Linked DNA regions of Homo sapiens: regions 1, 2, 3, 4, 5 and 7 are each linked to region 6. The links are contacts of gene promoters, found by promoter capture Hi-C in blood cells and fetal thymus (Javierre and others, 2016). All regions are on one chromosome and are shown on one strand. The core of a region is centred on a gene start or on the middle of the fragment in contact, and the rest is flanking DNA. Distances in the headings are between cores, read along the strand shown. Region 1 overlaps HDGFL3 (HDGF like 3). Region 2 has its middle 35 kb from the start of HDGFL3. Region 3 overlaps BNC1 (basonuclin zinc finger protein 1). Region 4 overlaps FSD2 (fibronectin type III and SPRY domain containing 2). Region 5 overlaps FSD2 (fibronectin type III and SPRY domain containing 2). Region 6 holds the start of C15orf40 (chromosome 15 open reading frame 40). Region 7 overlaps HDGFL3 (HDGF like 3).

Evidence for each region. The method cuts DNA at HindIII sites, captures the fragments that hold promoters and counts their contacts. A CHiCAGO score of 5 or more calls a contact.
Region 1: a fragment that was not itself captured here is called in contact with the fragment with the promoter of C15orf40 in region 6 in 13 of 17 cell types (megakaryocytes, erythroblasts, endothelial precursors and 10 more); the score reaches 25.4 in megakaryocytes.
Region 2: a contact is called between a fragment that was not itself captured here and the fragment with the promoter of C15orf40 in region 6, in 2 of 17 cell types (megakaryocytes and endothelial precursors). The highest score is 6.4, in megakaryocytes.
Region 3: a contact is called between a fragment that was not itself captured here and the fragment with the promoter of C15orf40 in region 6, in 1 of 17 cell types (erythroblasts). The highest score is 5.2, in erythroblasts.
Region 4: a contact is called between a fragment that was not itself captured here and the fragment with the promoter of C15orf40 in region 6, in 1 of 17 cell types (neutrophils). The highest score is 5.6, in neutrophils.
Region 5: a contact is called between a fragment that was not itself captured here and the fragment with the promoter of C15orf40 in region 6, in 10 of 17 cell types (total B cells, monocytes, neutrophils and 7 more). The highest score is 8.5, in total B cells.
Region 7: a contact is called between a fragment that was not itself captured here and the fragment with the promoter of C15orf40 in region 6, in 2 of 17 cell types (erythroblasts and megakaryocytes). The highest score is 8.0, in erythroblasts.

The regions. Positions count from the first base shown.
Region 1 is chr15:83,202,550-83,205,385 of GRCh38, reverse strand. All of the region lies in intron 1 of HDGFL3 (HDGF like 3), which reads left to right. Among named protein-coding and RNA genes, the nearest start is that of HDGFL3, 3.9 kb to the left of the region's middle. The HindIII fragment of the contact is 5,158 bases long and covers 1-2,836 here.
Region 2 is chr15:83,241,227-83,244,245 of GRCh38, reverse strand. No RefSeq gene overlaps it. Among named protein-coding and RNA genes, the nearest start is that of HDGFL3, 35 kb to the right of the region's middle. RefSeq lists a silencer at 243-443. The HindIII fragment of the contact is 930 bases long and covers 988-1,917 here.
Region 3 is chr15:83,258,499-83,261,375 of GRCh38, reverse strand. All of the region lies in intron 4 of BNC1 (basonuclin zinc finger protein 1), which reads left to right. Among named protein-coding and RNA genes, the nearest start is that of BNC1-AS1, 24 kb to the left of the region's middle. The HindIII fragment of the contact is 1,106 bases long and covers 854-1,959 here.
Region 4 is chr15:82,785,564-82,788,487 of GRCh38, reverse strand. It overlaps FSD2 (fibronectin type III and SPRY domain containing 2), which reads left to right. Exons shown (of 13, transcript NM_001007122.4): 2 at 1,020-1,736; 3 at 1,882-1,977. The coding sequence starts at 1,098. Among named protein-coding and RNA genes, the nearest start is that of FSD2, 19 kb to the left of the region's middle. The HindIII fragment of the contact is 3,444 bases long and covers 1-2,924 here.
Region 5 is chr15:82,759,075-82,761,774 of GRCh38, reverse strand. FSD2 (fibronectin type III and SPRY domain containing 2) reads left to right here. Exons shown (of 13, transcript NM_001007122.4): 13 at 2,175-2,700. The coding sequence ends at 2,427. Among named protein-coding and RNA genes, the nearest start is that of SNHG21, 9.9 kb to the right of the region's middle. The HindIII fragment of the contact is 4,379 bases long and covers 1-2,700 here.
Region 6 is chr15:83,010,256-83,013,100 of GRCh38, reverse strand. C15orf40 (chromosome 15 open reading frame 40) reads left to right here and starts at 1,462. Exons shown (of 4, transcript NM_144597.3): 1 at 1,462-1,604; 2 at 2,738-2,845. The coding sequence starts at 1,494. LOC124903542 (a long non-coding RNA gene) reads right to left here and starts at 1,360. Exons shown (of 2, transcript XR_007064742.1): 1 at 42-1,360. RefSeq lists an enhancer at 1,225-1,284. The HindIII fragment of the contact is 2,628 bases long and covers 1-2,597 here.
Region 7 is chr15:83,180,717-83,183,514 of GRCh38, reverse strand. All of the region lies in intron 1 of HDGFL3 (HDGF like 3), which reads left to right. Among named protein-coding and RNA genes, the nearest start is that of HDGFL3, 26 kb to the left of the region's middle. The HindIII fragment of the contact is 6,389 bases long and covers 1-2,798 here.

The sequences.
Region 1 (2,836 bases), core at 61-2,560, 190 kb before region 6:
AAAATCTGTATCTATTCACATTTAACGAGCTCCTCAAGAAACAACCTAAGACTCAAAAAAAGAAGTTTTATTTTCTCGTTAGTGGCATGCTGCAATTTCCAAAGGTAAAGGTTAGAAAAAGATTTGAGTCCCCTTTTTTACAGTGCGTATACTTCACATATGTTTTCATTTTTTTCATCCCAATTCTATGAGGCATTATTCCCATCTTACACCTAGGTATAGCTGTGTAGATGATAATGTTATAAAATGCTAACTGGGAAAAAAAGTCTTGCTTATTGAAGTTTCAAATATTATCACTTGATACGAAGGCCATTCATGTGGGCATTAGATACTGTGGGGCGCCAAGGACTCAAACTTAGGAGGGAAACCAGGAAGAAACAGATTTCAGAGTACATGTTGTAGGAAGGCACTTTGTATTAGAGCTGGTTCATACAGGAATGGAGAAGCAACTTCCTTGCTCTAGGGAAGATGTTTGGTCCTAGGCAGCCCTTTGTGAGGAATGTAGGTCAAGAGGATTCAGAATTCCTACAGGTTGGATTCAGCTCTTGGCTGGGCTTCACACTGTGACCTTGTGCATGTTCTGTAATCTTTCTAAGTTTCTGTTTACTCGTCTGTAAAATAAAGATAATTCTCACCTCACAAATACAGAGTATCTAAAAGCACCAAGTGATGGTACTTGTATGTTCCTACCTTTTTCCTTTTTGAATTTCTAACTTTCCTTTGTATCACTACACTATTTTAAATTATTGTCAACTTTCAACTCAGATTTATTTTTCCAATATTTTATCCTGAAAAATTTCGAATATATAGATAAGTTTAAAAAATTGAACTGTGAAGACCCATTTATCTACACCTAGATTCTACAATTAAATTTCATTCTACTTGCTCTTTCATGCATCTGTTCATATATCCTCCCTCTATCTACATAATAGTTCCTCTTATTTTAATGCATTTCAAGGTAAGTTGCACACATCGCCATAATTTACTCCTAGACACATGCATGCCATTAACCTAGTGGTTAATACTTTGAATGGATCCTTTTCTCTTTTGAGGTAAAATTTACATGGAATGGAATGTACTTACCTTAACTGTACCATTCGGTGAGTTTGACAAATGTATACATTGGTATAATATAAATATAGCTCTCTATATGATATATGTCTGATATATATAAGTATATGTGATACATATATATAATATAAATACATAAATACATTGACATAATACCTACCAAGGTATAGAACAGTGCCTACGAAAGTACTCTCATGCCTCTTTCTGGTAGATTCCTGTCCTCCTCCTTCCTTCTCCCCCATTGTTCAGATGTATTATTCTAACATTAAATAGCAGCTGGCTGTTTCTCATCTAGTATGCCTAATTTTGTGTGGCTTTAAAAATTAGAAGTTCATCTATGTTATGGATTAGCTAGCTTAATGTTAAAAAGTACTGAGGCTAAAACGAGTCTCTGATCGCTTTTGTTTGTGTACCCTGTTGGTAAAATAATTTGAGCATACATCACTAATATATCTAAATTTTCTTTATATATACATGTGCTTTCTGTTACTACTATATACAGCATAAAATAAACACAAAAAGAAACTAAAAGGGATGACATGATGAAAACAATATGTTTTAAAATTTTCATTGCACAATATCGTTAACAGTAATAATACTTATTATTACTTATAGGTTAAGTTCATATTTTTTAAAGTCTTAATTTTTGGAATATTTTCTGCCTGCTTCTTGTGAGATTTGACTAGATGGATGGTCATTGTTCTTAACTTCCGAAGAGATTTTCTAGAATAGAAGTGTCAGCTTAGACATTTACCTTGTTGTTTGCTTGCATCTACATTACTAATATTATTTTTGTGTAGGAATCTTTCTTTTTTTTAGCCACCTGTTCATTTGGTGAGAGCTAGTTCAGTTAGAAGTAGATATTCCATAATCCTGCTCAACCGGGCACACACCAAATGGCAGTAAATCACAGTATACTCAACGTGAATAAACATAACCATCTGAATAAGAATACTATTAATAGTGTCAACTTGCATATAAAATACTAGTAAAATTTACTTTTTAGCTAAAAGAGTAAGAAACTGAAATCAAAATTCTGTTTTCTTCCCATACCCCACCCAAACCTTCCGCTGAGATGTGAGCACTCTGCTTATGTTACCCCCTACTCTAAAAGGTCAGAAAACAATGTAAACGAAAAGCCTCAAAATTATTGTGCTTTAACTAAAGCACTTTTTTACACTTAAAAACTTTATATGAGAATTATCAAATATTGCTAGTAGAGTGTATTGATAGTTACTTAAGAAAACTGACTTAATCTACATATGCTTACCTTGTGACCTAGCAGTCTCTTCTAGGCATATACCCAAGAGAAATGAGTGTTTATATTCACCAAAATACTGTACAAGAATGCTCATACATAACAACTTTCTTCATGATAGAACAGGAAACAACCCAAATGTCCATCAGCAGGAGAATGAGTAAACAAATTTGTAGTATATTCACATAGTGGAGTACTATTTGACAATAAAAAGGAATAAATTACTGATACAGTGGTCACTGGTTTGTAGTGGGTAGAAAGGAGTTATTGAATAGGAGAAGGCACTGGAAATGTTCCCTGTCTTGATCTGGATGGTGTTACATGGATGTGTACATATGTAAAAATGTATCAAGCTGTACATTTAAGATTTGTGCACTATACTGTATGAAAGTTATACCTCAATTTAAAAAACACATTTTATATGAGTTAGGGAGAAAGGAGAACTAATACTTCTACATGGATTAAATTTCACTATTTTTAGCTTTCAGTGAGTTGTTTTTTTTCCTT
Region 2 (3,019 bases), core at 203-2,702, 230 kb before region 6:
CTGAGCCAACCCCACTGTTTCATTACTAACAATAAACTATCTCGATTAATAAGTCCTTGTAGTCTTGAAAAGTACCATATAGTTTCTATACAGTTCACTTAATGTAGTTAATTTTCACATCAGCCCTGCAAGGGCAGCTCTGTTTTACAGGTCAGGAAGGAACAACTGGGAGAGTTCCCAGGCTTAGCGTTTCTCCCGCTATACCACATGACCTCTGGGCTCAGAAAAAAAGGACACACGGGAAGTGAGAGCCCTCAGCTTTCTGCTCTCTCAGCTTTCAGAACCAGTCCCGCTGTCCTTTCCTCCTTCACTTTCCACTCTCCCTCTTCCTGAGCTGGGTCAATGGACCAAAACGTGGAGGCTTGCTTGAGTTTCTGGGTGAGCAGTTCTCCTTGGCTGGTTGGTCATGGGCATTCAACCCAGCCAGGTGCTCTTACTCAACTCCACTTTCATTGCCCACAGCTCGGACCCCACTCGGTTCTTCCAAAGCTAGTCAAGTGAGGACTCTGCTGGCCGCTGACAGGGACAGCCTGAGGTCAGGATGTGCAGTAGGGTGTACCCTGAATAGCTTCCCGAAGGACAGGGAGAAAAACCTATCGCACAATGCTTGAGTGAAAAAATAAACACGTATGATAGTATGACTTTTGTTAAAGAAGGAAGGCGCTTCTCTGACCCAATATCCAAGCCACCAGAGTAGAGATCTAAGGATATGAAGAAGTGTTAGCTTTTCCTAAATATTGGGAATTTTTTCCTGAATGCAAAAGTAATACAAACTAATTGGAGGTAGGGCGGGAGGAGGTGCATGGAAACAGTAAAAGACAAAGATTAAAAAAAGATCACTCTAATGCTACCACCCTGCCAGCATCCTTCCATCTTCTTCCTTTCTTTTGTTAAAAGAAAAAAAGTGTTTGTTTAATCATCTACTTTTCATTTTTATCTAAGTAATATATGCACGTAGTTTTTAAAGTCAACTAGCACCAAAAAGCTTTTACAATAATTGGAATTCCCTGACCCCCACTGCCTCCCTACCCCAGTATAAATTAAGTTTATAATTGTGTACATTTATAGGGAACAAAGTGATGTTATGATTTATGAATACAAAGTGGAATAATTAAATAAGGCTAATTAACATATTCATCACCTAAAATACTTATGTTTTATAGTGAGAACATTTGAAATTTACTCTCCTAGTAATTTTGAAATGTACAAAACACTATTATTAACTATATTCACCATGCTATGCAATAGATCTCAAAAAAAAAAAACCTCATTCCTCCTCATTGAGATTTCGTACCCTTTAACCATCATTTCTCCATTTTCCCCTTACCCCACTATTTGGAGTTATGCTTGATTCCATAGCTTGGCCATTGTGGACAGTGCTACAATGACAATGGAAGTCCAGACATCTCTTCAACAAACTGATTTCAAGTATTTTAAGTAAATACCCATAAGTGGGATTGCTGGATCATATAGTAATTCCATTTTTAGTTTTTTGAAGAACATCTATATAGTTTTCCATAATGACTGTACTAATTTACATCCCCACCAACAATGTACAAGGGTCCCTTTTCTCCACATCCTCACCAATACTTGCTATCTTTTGTCTTTTTGATAATAGTCATTCTGACAGGTGTGAAATATCACGTTGTGGTTTCAACTTGCATTTCCCTAGTGATTATCAATATCAAGCATTTTTTCATATACTGTTGGGCATTTCTATGCCTTCTTTTGAGAAATATCTGTTTAAGTCCCTTGCCCATTTTTAAATTATTTTGTTTGTTTTCTTGCTATTGAGTTGAGTCCCTTATATATTTTGTATATTAACCCCTTATCAGATATGTGGCTTGAAAATATTTTCTCCCACTCTGTAGGTTGTCTCTTCACACTGTCAATTGTTTCCTTAGCTGTGCAGAAGCTTCTTAATTTGACATAATCCCATTGTCTATTTTTGCTTTTGTTGCCTGCCCTTGTGAGGCCAAATTCAGAATATCATTGGCCAGACCAATGTTGTATAGTTTTCCCTCTGTTTTCTTTCAGTAGTTTTACAGTTTCTGATCTTATGTTTCAATCTTTATTCCATTTTGAGTTGATTTTCATATATGGTGTGAGATAAGGATCCAATTTCATTCTTCTGCATATGGATTTCAAGTTTTCTAAAACCATTTATTGAAGACTATCCTTTTCCAGTTGTGCATTCTTGGCAACTTTATTTAAAACCAATTGACTATACATGCATAAGTTCATTTCTGGGCTCCTTATTCTATTGCATTGGTTGATATGCCTATTTTTTGCCAGTACCATACTGTTTTAATTGCTATGGCTCTGTAGTATAGTTTTCAGTTGGGTAGTGTGACACCTCTCCAGCATTGTTCTTTTTGTGCATGATTTTCTTGACTACTCAGGGGGTTTTGTGGTCCCATATGAATTTTAGGTTGCTTTTTTTGTTTCTATGAAAACTGACATTGGAATGTTGATAGAGATTGAATTGAATTTGTAGATTGCTTTGGGTAGCATGGATATTTGAACAATATTAATTCTTCCACTCAATGAACACAGGATATCTATTTATTTATGTATACCTCAATTTCTTTTTCCTTTTTTTTTTTTTTTTTTTTTGAGACAGAGTCTCACTCTGTCACCTGGCTGGAGTGCAGTGGCACAGTCTTGGCTAACTTCAACCTCCGCCTCCTGGATTCAAGCAATTCTCCTGCCTCAGCCTCCCCAGTGGCTGGGACTACAGGCGTGCACCACCATGCACAGCTAATTTTTGTATTTTTAATAGAATTGGGGTTTCACCATGTTGGCCAGGATTGTCTTGATCTCTTGACCTCGTGATTCGTCCACCTTGGCCTCCCAGAGTGCAGGGATTACAGGTTTGAGCCACAGCACCTAGCCTCTTCAATTTCTTTTTTTTTGAGACAGAATCTTGCTCTGTTGCTCAGGCTGGAGTGCAGTGGCGCGATCTTGGCTCACTGCAAGCTCCGCCTCCTGGGTTCATGCCATTCTCCTGCCTCAGCCT
Region 3 (2,877 bases), core at 157-2,656, 250 kb before region 6:
TCCCACACACATTCCTGGACAGGGCTCATAAGAACATACTTATTGTCTTTAGCAAAGAGGATAGAGCACAGGAGATATTAGTTAAATGTTTATATTAAATCAGTGTTTCTACTGATAGGATGTTGAACCAAACCACCAAGGCACCCTAATTAGTGAACCAGTCCTTCTTCAGCCTCCAAGAGGAGGAGTGTTTGTTCATGAATAAGCTGTTGCTACAGAGACAGTCATGTTGGTCATATTATCTTTGATATTTATGATACTGTTCTATCCTACAATATCTACTAAATTGGAAGGCATATTGGATTCAAGATACTTTTTCATTTGATATTTATTTTTTCATAGATTTAATATTTCCTTATGTTCTGACCTATTTGTATTAATAGATCCGAGCCTTCCCCCACCACAACAGGAAAGCATCTTGCGTTATAAATTAAAACCACTAATTAGTCTAGAACTTGAAATGCATTTTACCTAGAATCTATGATTTAAGTTACAGTATTTTAAATTTGACTTTGTGGGCAGGCCCAGACCTGACACCATTTCTCTCAGTCAGAGATTGAGAACCACATTCCTGTAGGGACATTTAACTTCTCTTTGAGCCACTGCTACTGCCAGCAACAGTTACCAAGACCCATCAGGAAGGGACTGGGACAACACCCTGGATGCTTATTTACCCAGCAAATATTAAGAACTGTCTATGTTAGGTGCTGGGGACATAATCCCTGCCCATAGAGGCCTTCTGTAGTGGAGGAGACAGACCAGAAACAGGCAATTACAGTTGAATGTGATTACTTCTGCAGTGAAGGAAATGTAGGCTGTTGTGGGAGGGCACCTTGAGAAGTTAAGGAAAGCTTCCTGGAAGAAGGGATATGTCTACACCAGTAACTCTGAAACGTTTTGGTCTTATAACCCCTTTACAAATACTTAAAACCTAAGGTTACTCAAGAGCTTTTCTCTATTTGGGTTATATCTATCAAAATTTATCATATTAGAAATTAAAAATTTAAAAATTGTAAAACTTTAAATTATATATTAACATATGTTTATGAAAAAAACCCTACATTTTCCAAAGCAAAAATTTAGTGAGATGAGTGGCTTTGTTTTACATTTTTGTAAATCTCATTAATGTCTGACTTCGTAGAAGACAGCTAGATTCTCATATCTGCTTCTGCATATGCTCTGTTGCAAAATTGTGTTACGTAGCCTCTGAAAAACTCCACTGTTCACTCATGAGACAATGAAAGTGAAAAAGGCAAATAATATCTTAGTATTATGAAACTTTGACTTCAGGAACCCCCTGAAAGGGCCTCAGAGATCACTAGGGGTGCTCAGACCACACTTTGAGAACCACTGGTCTCAACTAATCAAAATAGAAGCCAAGAGGAAGAGTTGGAGGGGAGAGGTAGAGGTTGTAGGGTTGAAGGGAAGAGATGGAGACATGGGCAGTGAGTACAGGATTAGGAGAGTCCTAGAAACCAAAGCCTGGCACATGATCCAGAGGGTTTTTACAGTTGTAGTAGTTACTGGTCTTAGGGGACATGGCACCTCAGGAAATGTATCTAACCCTCTAAGGCTTGAGAGGAGCGAGAGCCCACAAGTTAGCCATTAGTATGCATGGAATACTCAGGAGTTGAGTATGAGTCCCAGAGGTTTGCTTTGTTCCAGTAGGGACCTTTCTTTACAAGGTTCCAATAAAAGTGTTTGTCTTTCTTTTTAACCACTTGTATGTACTGGAACCTGTACGTCCACCCAGTGTCTGGTTTTCTGTCGGCACATACCAGCCCCTTCAACCCAGAATGCTGACATAATCACAGGGCAGAGTTGGAGTTAAGAAGGGCTGCTTGCAAAGTGGGTGATCTGGGAGTATAATTCTGATTATGTCCAGAATATATGTGTAAGGGAATAGAAGACAGAAGTTGAACAGTAAATTTTGTACATTTTATAAAACATAAGTAAGCTTCCCACACACGTCTTTGGGGATTTAAAAAGTTCAATTCTTAGTTATTTTGGTGAAGGTGTTTTCCCAACTTGACTCTGCCATACATTCTGATATGTATTGGGGGAGTGTTTTCTCTATTTGGAATAATTCTCCTATCACCTTTAAGATTGTAACCCCCTTGGTAAGGACTTTTGCTTGTCAAAAGTTAGCAGAGGATTTCTGAGGAAGACCAACATTGATTTACAAGTTAATTCCAAATGATAACATATGACTAAAAGGCATGTGTCATAATGGATACTCATTATCTGTCCTTCGAGAGTAATCATTGGGTGGAAGATTGGTGGTATGCTTATTCTGCTGCATTTGCAAAACTTCTGTCTGGTATAGGATAGTGAAACGTTACAAATATGAACTAAACTACATACACACACAATTCTAGCCAATTGGATTCTCAACCACACTTTTAGAATTTTTGGGATGAAGTGTATGTCAATGCTCTTGACCAGTGCTATCCAATAGAAATACGATGCAAGCTTCATATGAAATTTTAAATATTATAGCCACTGTAAAAAAGCAGATGCAGTAAAATTTAATAACATTTAACTTCAGTATATCCAAAATATTATCCTTTCAACATATGATACTAGCCACATTTCAGGTGTTCAGTATCCATATATGGCTAGTGGCTATCATTGGACAGTGCAGCCCCAGAAGGTAATGTTTCCTGATTTCATTGAAATAAAGTCCTTTTCTTAGTTCCTTATAGTTTGTGACCAGTTTTCTCCTGGGATCTCCTGGTTCCAGTGTCCTAGTTAAACTAGTCTAGTTGATTTAGTCTAGTCATTCTGGGAGACAGACCAGAAACAGGCAATTACAGTTGAATGTGATGACTTCTACAATGGGGGAAGTGCTGCTGTGGGCACATGGGAGGGCACCAT
Region 4 (2,924 bases), core at 274-2,773, 220 kb after region 6:
TGTCACCCAGGCTGGAGCGCAGTGGTGTGATTTAGGCTCACTGCAACCACCACCCCTCAAGGCTCAAGTGATCCTCCCACCTCAGCCTCCCAAGTAGCTGGGACCACACGTGCACACCACTATGCCTGGCATTTTTTTTTTTTTTTGTATTTTTGGTAGAGACAGGGTCTTGCCATGTTGCCCAGGACGATCTCGAACTCCTGAGCTCAAGCAATCCATCTGCCTCAGCCTCCCAAAGTACTGGGATTATGGGCATGAGCCACCACGCCAGGCCTGTTCTGTTACTTTTAAGTACAGTTTTTTTCAAATGTTTTTGTGCAGGTGCTATCATATACAAAAGTAATTGTTTTGTGAATTGTCTGTGCACATTCATCTATTGAGATGCCACTTTTTCAATTAATTTATACAATTTAAAAATAATAGACTGGGCGCAGTGGTTCATGCCTGTAATTCCAGCACTTTGGGAGGCTGAGGTGGGTGAATCACCTGAGGTCAGGAGTTCCAACATAGTGAAAACCCGTCTCTACCAAAAATACAAAAATAAGCTGGGTGTGGTGGCACATACCTGTAATCCCAGCTAGTTGGGAGGTGGAGGCACAAGAATTGCTTGCACCCTGGAGGCAAAGGCTGCAGTCAGCCGAGATCATGCCACTGCACTCTAGCCTGGGTGACAGAGTGAGACTCCATCTCAAAAATAAATTAATAATAATAATAATAATAATTGCCTGAGATGCTTCCCATTATTTTGCCTTTTAAGTTTTTTTTTTAATGTATGAGGGAAGTATTTTGTTGGACATATCTATTAGACATTTCTTTTGTAATTTCTTTTGTCTCTTTTAACCTTAGAAAGCCCATCCTCCCATAGAAAACAAATTTTTTAAAGATGGTTCAAAGTGAAACCACGACTGAACTACACAGATAATTTTTTTAAAGTTTTATATGAGTAGAGCCCAATCTAATGATCATCTACTGCAATGCCCTTCTCCAGAAATGATTTTCCTCCTCCTTTTGTGTTCCAGGGCCCAGATATTCACTATTAAGTGTCCAGGAAGGATCTTTCTTATATAAAGGTGCTTCTGAGGACTTCCAGAGTTACAATGGAGGAGGAATCGGGGGAGGAACTGGGGCTGGACAGGTCTACTCCCAAGGATTTCCACTTTTACCACATGGACCTGTATGACTCTGAAGACAGACTGCACCTCTTTCCAGAAGAGAACACTAGGATGAGGAAAGTAGTCCAAGCTGAAATGGCCAATGAGTCAAGAGGAGCAGGGGATGGTAAGGCTCAAAGAGACCTTCAAGAGGAAGTGGATGAACTTGTCCACTTATATGGACTTGAAGATGATCATGAATTAGGGGATGAGTTTGTTGATGAAAACATACCCAGAACAGGGGTTTCAGAATATCCTCCTTATATGATGAAGAGGAGAGACCCAGCCAGGGAGCAGAGAGACTGGAGACTTAGTGGAGAGGCAGCGGAGGCCGAGGACCTGGGCTTCGGAGGGTGGGGCTCAGCAGGCCAGTGCCAGGACTTGCGGGAAGCCTATAGGTACACACACGGCCGTGCCAGCGAGGAGTATGAATGCTATGTCATCCCCGAGGAAGAGGATGAAGAAGAAGCTGCTGATGTCTTCTGTGTCACTTGTAAGACTCCAATAAGAGCTTTTCAGAAGGTTTTTGATGAACATAAGGAGCATGAAGTGATCCCACTCAATGAAGCACTGGAAAGTGCCAAGGTAAATAGGTGTCCTTGGTTCTTCTCTGTCTTGATATTGCTTTGGTATCTCAAGTACATACGCAGGGAATAAATCTAAAACGCCTTCTACAAGAGTGAGAGAAGATGTAACATTAATACCTTCTTTGTGATCCTCTGTTGGATAGGATGAAATTCACAAAAACATGTACAAATTGGAAAAGCAGATAATTGAGATGGAAAACTTTGCAAATCATTTGGAGGAGGTTTTCATCACTGTGGAGGTAAGAGCACACTTGAAGACCTCATCAGACTCACATTTCTTCCATCAATGGCTATGTCAAGCAGCTGTTTCTGGTATGAGCTAGAGAATCTGTTTTCTTAGAATGTGAGGGGTCACCACTCCCCCTTCTCTCCTCCCTTCTTTCACTGACCTCCCATAGCACCTGGGCATGGACGTCATGGAACCAATTACCTGTCAGCATTCCCTGCTGAACTATAAGCTCTTGGTGTGAAAGCTGGGTCGTCTGTCTCAATATCCCTAGTCCTACTACATGGTATGTTTCAGAGCAGGCATTTTATACATGTTTGTTGCATGAGTAAATAAGGTAGAAATTTCCCAATCACAATCCCTCTCCTTCACTGGCTTCATTTTCTCCTAATCCCCCTTTACCCAAATCACCAATTGTATGTGATTTAGACCCTTATTCGAATTCTTTTTTTAATGTATACTGTTTTCATCATTCAACTTGATAGACCCTTATTCTAACAAAGATGACTTCACGGTGGCATCATCCAGTGAATTCCCTCATTTGAGCCCAGGTGGTGAAGAGGGGACATCCTTTCTTTTGCCCTTGTCTTTTTGGGTTTGTTTATTTGTTTTGGACCTCTTTTTTTGGGGTAGAAGTTCTTACTGAGAATCCCCGGGTTGCTATCTGGTGCATTGGCGGAGAAACCAGAAACAGTGGAGTTCCATGTTGTTCCGTTGGTTTCGGGAGTTGTTAATTTTAGGCTTTTGGGGGTACCTATAATGTTGACTATATAAAGTCAGGTGTAGACTGTCAAACACTTTTTTGTTGTTCTAAGAGGCAAAATACCCACTTCTGCCAATGATCGCTACTCAAACAAAGGAATATTTTTAGCTCTGCATGCATTTAAAAAATAAATTTATGGCTGGGCACGGTGGCTAACGCCTGTAATCCCAGCACTTTGGGAGGCCAAGGCGGGTGGA
Region 5 (2,700 bases), core at 79-2,578, 250 kb after region 6:
GGAGAGTGAGGTAGGAGTATTGTTTGAGCCCTGGACTTCAAAGCCAGCTTGGGCAACATAGCAAGACCCCGTCTCTAAAAAAAAAAAAATAATAAAATAAAAAAATAAAATAAAATAAAAGAATAAAAATAAGAAGACCACACCTCACAGCAATTAGATAATCCAAACGACATGGATTTGGAACTTGGATTCAAACTCAAGCAGTCTGGTTCCAAAGATTTCATTCCTAACCACTTAAGTGATAGATTTTTCATTTCTGTTCACCTTTAGTATTAAGCCAATACAGTTTGCTTTGAAGCCCCAGTTCCATCTTTTTAAGTAAATGTGGGCAAGAGGCTTAGTAGTTATGGCTAATTCTGGTTTGCTCCTGCTGCTGGGCACTCTGTCTTTACACATGGAGTAGTTCCATATAGTGGGAAAAAAAGTCTCACGAAGCCCAGGCCAATGAATACACTTTCAGACTTAGAAGGCCATGGTTACAACCTTCCTTCACCTCAAAAACTGAAAAACAAGACCCCACACTGCTTTCCTATCACACCTTGTAAAATGGGGCCTCTGACCCTCCTTGATTTGATGAATCCTATTAATGTTCATCCAATGCTCTCTGCCCATGATCCTCTATCATGGTTATTTACACATTATGTGTCATGCCCAAGCATAAGTGGGAAAACCAACTTCCCCTCCGATAACAGATGAAGACTCTAATGAAATCTACTAAACCTCACACCCAGTTTGGGGAATCCAAGAATTACTATACACTGAGGCAGATACTTTATTTGGGGATTCTGCCTGAAGTAAGACTAAAGAGCAAAGTCTCTTCTTTAGAAAGGCAAGAACAAGGGGCAGAGTAAAACTAAGGGAGCATAAAGAAAGCCTAGAAGTCCACGTGTAGAGGGAAGAATAAAGGGGGTAAGAAGACACAATAGAAGAGGGGTGGAAACAGAAGAATGACAAAAGAAGGGCAAAAGCTACAGTCCAAGTGCTAGAGCCAAGCCAGTTTCTTACAGATGTAGGGTGTGTGTGTGTGTGTGTGTGCGTGCACGCACACACGTGCACACACGTTACAAGTGGAGAATGAAGGTAAGGTATCCTAGGATAAGGTCTCCTAGCAGACTTGCATTTTTGGCTCATAGTATTAGACTTTATTGGTGGTAGCATAGAAAGTAGAAGAAACGACTCATAGCTTCTGGCAGCTGCTTAGTTAAATTAAGGTGAAATGGGCTAGAGACAGGCAGGCTTCCTCTGACACGTTTAGATCATATTCCAAGTGTTTATCCCAGTAGCCTAGACTAGCCTGTTGACACAAAGAGCTCTTCAAATATCTGTAGGTAGCAGGGTTAGGAAATTCCTGTGACAGGTTTTCATTTCTGCCATTTTTCAAAGTACACAGGATGTAGAGCATGGATAGTGATATAGTATTGATTGGTAACAGGCCCACTGGCTCCCCACTCAATATGAAAGTTTAAGAACTGGAGTAACTGTGCATAGAAGAGCTTATACCAAGAAGCCCATTTTATCACATGGAAAATCACAAGGTTCCCTGTTTCAAATGTCTAATCCAAATTTTAAAAACATGTTCTATTCCTATGCTAGTTTAGATGAAAGAGAGTTCAGGATGCTATAGGTAAATTTCTTAGGTTAAGAGGTTGCTAGAGAAAAAATGATGTTTGAAAAATGTTTCGGCCAGAAGCAGTGGCTCACACTTGTAATCCCAGCACTTTGGGAGGCCAAGGCAAGTGGACTGCCTGAGCTCAGGAGTTCGAGACCAGCCTGGGCAACACAGTGAAACCCTGTCTCTACTAAAAATACAAAAATTAGCCGGGCTTGGTGGTGCACGCCTGTAATCCCAGCTACTCAGGAGGCTAAGGTGGGAGAATTGCTTGAACCCAGGAGGCTGAGGTTGCAGTGAGCCGAGATTGCACCACTGCACTCCAGCCTGGGTGACAGAGCAAGACTCCATCTAAAAAAAAAAAAGAAAATGTTTCTTAGGACAAATTTTAGAAAAGAGATAGTTTAGAGAGTATAGTTTTAGAAATGGCTTGTCACCTTGGTAGTCATTTAATACTAGAAAATAGCAAAATCATAGGACTATGAATAAAATTAGTATGAAATGTTCTATAAATAGTCAATCTATAGAATTACTGAAACTTTATTATGTCAAATTTAATTTTCAGGCATAAGTATGAATTTCTGCACAACAGAACAACTCCAGATATAAGAATAACAGTTCCACCAAAGAAGATTGGCATTCTATTAGACTATGAACATTCAAAGTTGTCATTTTTCAATGTGGACCTTTCTCAGCATCTATATACATTTAGTTGTCAGCTTCACGAATTTGTGCATCCCTGTTTTTCTTTGGAAAAGCCTGGGTGTCTAAAGGTACATAATGGCATTTCAATGCCAAAACATGTCACTTTCTATTAGAACATTCTGATGTCCAGTTTCCTGTCTTCCATGCCTACCCCTCTCGCAGCTGCTCACGCCTTAGCTGGCTGAACCTGGCACTTAAGCACCATGTGCCCAGCACAATTTATGGCTCATGCTATTATCTGACTGGTGTGCTAGCGCTCATTTCACCCAACCTGGATTCTAGTCCTGTGTGCTGCTACCTGTGTGCTGCTAGGATAGTCATTACCAGGCCCAGCTGTAAAATAAAGGCTCAGACTAAACGAACTCAAAAGTCTTTGAAGCTGTCAA
Region 6 (2,845 bases), core at 213-2,712:
TCCTGTAGAGAACTCAATCTCTACTTGAGCTCAGATCCTACCTCTTCAGGAACCGTCCTCTGCTGTAACCTCTCTTCTCCTGGCTCTTTCCTACCAATCTTCAAATATGATAAAAATAAGTCTCTGAATGTCATGTGCCCCTCCAGATACCAATTGCTCCTTCACAGTGAAGTCACTGGATTATTCTCTACAATTATCTCCATTTCCTTCTCTCCACTAAAACTGCTGTAGCCCGGGTCACCACCACCACCCTGATTTCTAAATCTTGTGGCCACTTCTCAGTCGTTACATGTGACATGTTCTCTCCAGAGTGTTCATCACTGTTGATGTTCCCTCTTGAAGCGCCCTTCTTTAGCTGCCGTTACACCGTACTCCTACCTGGTCAGTGTCCTTTGGTGACTTCTCTACCTGCCCTTGCTGTTCTAACCTGGGCCCTCGTGCTCTTTACACACTCTCTCATCCATTTCCATAGCTTCAATTGCCATCTGCTTTCAGAAGATTCCAGAATCTCTATCACCAGCCTTGATTTCGCAAACTCCAGTCACATATATTCAGTTACCCCTTTAACATTTGTATTTGGATGTCCTGTGGGCATCTCAAACTCATTATGTCCAAAGCTGAACTCCTCACCTCGGCCTCCCAAACCTGTTCCTTGGGCCCCAAACCTGGGCATTTCCTTGACTTTTCCCCCTTATTCGCACATGCAGTCATTCCCAAGTTCTGATCATTTCAGTTCCTGAAGATCCTTGAAATGATCAGCGCTCCACCCTCCCTGCGGTTACTCTAGTTCAGGCCACCCTCTCCCATTTAGGGGGCGGATCTCCCTGTCTCTGGCTTTTCCTCTGTCGGCCACAGTGCAGCCGGTGTCTTTCTAAAACCCAGCAAATTGGGCTGCTAATAATCCCTTGCTTGAAAGCCTTCAGTGACTCCATGATCTTGCCTCTGCTGATTTGTTTCATGTCTCTCCATATCACATGTCGCAGTGTATTTCCTCTTCTTTTACATTGTGGGATCCGCTGCGCCTGGCACAAGGTAGGTGCGCCATCGATACGTGGAAGATTCACAAGGGCCAAGCCGCCACGAGGCTCTATATCGACTTGATGGCCACAGGCAGCGCGTGGGACTCTGCATCTGCTGCTTGGCTGTGGGAGCGAGAAGACACCTGGCCCTGTGCACTCCTTGCCGCGCTCTCCAATTCTGAGAAGTGACAATACCTTTCTTTCCCCGATTAGGAAAGAGGTGACACACCTTCCTATCAGCTGAGCAGGGTGGGCCAAGACACGGTGAGGCCTCAGCTCCGCAGCTCCACTTCCTGGGGCTCGGCCCGTTCCAGAACAAAAGAGACTCGCGCATGTTCTGCGGCCACGAGACTCGCTCCCGCCGGCCTTAAGGTGTCGCCCTCTGGCCAGAGCGGATGCGCCGGGCGGTGGGGCCGCTCCTGCCGGCTACCTGCGCAAGCGCAGAGGGCTCTTCCGGCGCCTTCCCAGGCGGGGATGCTGCGGCTCCGCAGCGGGCTGAGGCACCTTCGGGCAACACCCAATACTCGGGGCTCCGCTCGGCTTCTTTGCGCCGAGATGCCTAAGAAGGCTGGTGCGACGACCAAGGCCAGTAGCAGGTCCCGTGGCGGCAGAGGGGTGGGCCTCAGGGGTACTTGTTGAAGAGCGCGGGAGAAGCGGGGCCCGGGAGTGAGTGGAGGCACTGCCAGCGGCTTGCCGTCTCTCAGTTCCGGGGCTCAGGACAGCCGCCGCCACCCCCAGAGCTGCGGCCTGCTGCCGTCGCCCCGCCTCAGTAGGCTGCGCTGCCGTCCACCTGGTGATTTCTGAGCGCTGGGCCCGGCGGCAGCCGAGCTCTCCTTGGGCTGCGTGTGCTGACCTTTGGCCTCCTACCCGCACTCCCAGTCCAGCAATTCATGTTCCCGCAGCGGCATGACCTGCGTTTCCCCAGGAGGCTGTATTCTGCTTTCTCCTCCCTTGCTTTGGCTGATCGCACCCCTTCTGTCAAGAATACAGCACTCCCATTTCCACCATCTTTGTTTGGCCAACCCCAGTCCGTTTCTCAGACTCAGCTCAAGCACTGCCTCCTGCTGGCAGCATTCTCCAGTGCCCCAATGCTGATTTGCCTGTGGGGTAATGTTCTGTGCCTATCTCATCGGTGCACTTAGCACAGTGTATTATAATTTTGTATGTTCTTTCTCCCTCGCAGCAGTCCGAGCTCCTTGAGAGCAAGGACCATGTACCTTTTCATCTTTACATATCCATTGCCTACATATTTGTTGAACGAAAGTTCCTAGCACAGCCCCTGTCCCATAACAGGCCTTTAAATATCAAGCACTATTTTTTTTTCCTCCCTTTCCCGCAACATGCAGACATACACACTTTCACCAACATTTATTAGCTCCGACTGCATGAGATACAATGATGAATAATAAATGATCCCTGCCCCCAAGGAATTGGAAATACAAAGCAGAGGGAGGAGCAAGCATTAAGGTTTAGAAGCCAGAGTTAGGTTTTCTTGCAAGGGGGGAAAAAACACTGTTGGGTTGATGGGAACCCTTCGTGGGAAAATTGAGTAGAGCCTTGAAGGTTGTGGGAAAAGCTTTCTAGGTGGCCAGAAGTCCCTGGACACCACTGATGAGCCTAGTTTGTCTGTTAAGGGTGAAAGGGGGTAGTGGAAGAATCAAATTAAATGTGTGGGAAAATATTTTGTAACCTGTAAAGTTGTGTGGTTGTCATTTTAGGGTAAAAGCCAGAGCAAGGAACCAGAGAGACCACTTCCTCCCTTAGGTCCTGTGGCAGTTGATCCTAAAGGATGCGTCACCATAGCCATCCATGCAAAACCTGGCTCC
Region 7 (2,798 bases), core at 158-2,657, 170 kb before region 6:
TGCAGGGATTACAGGTGTGAGCCACCATGCCCAGCCAAGGTGCTCTTTATATTCAATCAGACAAGGTTCTTGTTGGTTCAGTTTTTTGAGGGCCTGTTAAAGGAGAAGTTGTAGACAGCAGGGCACAATAAATTTAATTGTCCAATTATTTAGCAATAATTTCACTCTACGATTTTTGTTTTTTTGAATGACACTTTTTTCTGGGGCAGGCCTTGTGCATGTATATTATTATTGGTTTCTTTTTGATTTTTATGTCATGGGGGTTTGGTGTACAGATTGTTTTGTCACCCAGGTAATAAACATAGTACCCAATAGCTACTACTGTGGTTTCAATCTGTACAGGGTTTTAAAAATCAACCTCGGCTTGTAATGAAGCACAGTAGTCTCCTGATTTATTGACTAGATAATATCTGTTGACTTTACATTTTAAGAGAAAAGGATATAGCCAATTTGTTAACACTAGTCTCATCCTCTTCTTCCCTCTCTATTTATATCAACGTATTATTTTGAAAATACTCAAATATACACAAAAGTTGAATATCACGGTGAACACCCATACACCCAAGACCTACATTCTATAGTTAGCATTTTGCTAAATTTGTTTTATCACATTTCTGTCCATCTAACAATCTCTGTTCATCCATCAAGCTATCTTATTTTTTATGTATTTTAAAGTGTAAATTGCAGACATTAATTTACTTCATCCCTAAATACTTCAGCATGCATATAACTAACTAGAGTTTAATATTTATTTAAACTTTTGAGGTAAAATTTACATACAGTGAATGCATAGATCTTAAGTGTTAAATTTCATGAGACCTGTATAAAATATTACCATTACCCCAGAAAATTCTCTAATACCCTTCCCAATCTCCAGAGGTAATCATACTCAGATTTTTTTTCACCATAGATTTGCTTTTCCTTTTCTAGAACTTAATATAAGTGGAATCATCCAATACGTACTCTTGTGTAAGTCTTCTTTCATTTAGCATAGTGTTTTAAAGATTCATTCATGTTATTGTATATATTAGTAGTGTTCCCTTGTATGAATATGCCATAGTTGGTTTGGCCACTTTCATTAGGACACCTGGGCTATTTCCAGATTTAGGCTATTAGGAATAAAGTTGCTATGAACAACCTTGTACAAATCTTTGTGTGGACATACCTTTTCATTTATTTTGAGTAAATACATAAAGCATTATAACACTTTAGTTTGTTAAAAGATATCCACAGAAGATACTACTTCATGCCTACTAAAATGACTAAAATTTAAAGTAAATACATAAAGCATTATAACACTTTAGTTTGTTAAAAGATATCCACAGAAGATACTACTTCATGCCTACTAGAATGACTAAAATTTAAAAGACTAGCCATAAAAAGCCATAAAAAGACTATGAGAAAAGGGAAATATCTGGTAGAGAGTACAGGGAAAATGTCTGAGATGACTTAAATGTTCTATACTTGATTTAGGTATTTGTTATATAGGTATATGCATTTATCACATTACCAAATAATGAAATACACATTTAAGATCAATGTATTTTACTGCATTTAAGTTTTACCTCAACAAAAGTAAAAATAAACCCTAAAAGCAAGTGTGTTTTATTTTATGCCTGTTCAAAATAGAATCTATGTGGACAATAGCTTTGAAGACCAAGGAGGATTGTGGAGGAGGAGGGTGCAGCGTTGGGGGAATAAGCCAGATCAGACAACTCAATTTAAAATGTGACTATAAGGGCCAGGCATGGTGGCTCACGCCTGTAATCCCAGTACTTCAGGAGGCTGAGGCGGGCAGATCACTTGGGGTCAGGCGTTCAAGACCAGCCTGGCCAACATAGTGAAACCCTTTCTCTACTAAAAATACAAAAATTAGCCGGGCGTGGTGGCACATGTCTGTAATCCCAGCTACTCGGAAGGCTGAGGCAGGAGAACCACTTGAACCCAGGAGGCGGAGGCTGCAGTGAGCTGAGATCGCACCTCTGCACTTCAGCCTGGGCAACAGAGTGAGACTCCATCTCAAAAAAAAAGTGACTACAAGAATTGAAAAGGATAAACCCTGGAGGTTTAAATGAAGATCATAAATCGAAATGCCTCACTTTTAACTATTCGAGCTGTGTTCTTTCAGTTGTCAGAGACTACGCCTCTCCCCAGGTATACTATGAGGCTGAGTTAATGCCCCACATATATTCTTCCTCCAGAATCAGCAGTGTAACATGCTAATGAGAAACCTCAGTAAATCATCTGGCCCATCCCCTTTATACAGCCTGCATACATCCCCTGTACATCTGCTATATACAACTTAGTTAAAAGCACTAAGTTCTAGGTATATCATGACCTCTCAAAATTATTTATAATTATTTTAAAGATTAAAATGACAATGTTTTTAGGGTTTTATTGGGTGAAAAAATGTCTGTAGCTATAAGATTGTTCTATCACTAGTAGATGGTCGTTTTTATATATTTGAAGATAACTCAGCCTGATATTTCATACATTTTTTCAAACTAGTATTTTGGAAGGTGTTTCCATATCATCATGCTTGCAGTTCTTTTAACAGTGTTCTTTTCAAATATTAAATTGCCGGGCATGGTGATTCACGCCTGTAATCCCAGCACTCTCGGAGGCCAAGGTGGGTGGATCACTTGAGGTCAGGAGTTCGAGACCAGCCTAGCCAACATGGCAAAACCCTGTCTCTACTAAAATTAGCCGGCCATGGTGGTGTGTGCTTGTAGGCCCAGCTACTTGGGAGGTTAAAGCAGGAGAATCGCTTGAACCTGGGAAGTAGAGGTTGCAGTGAG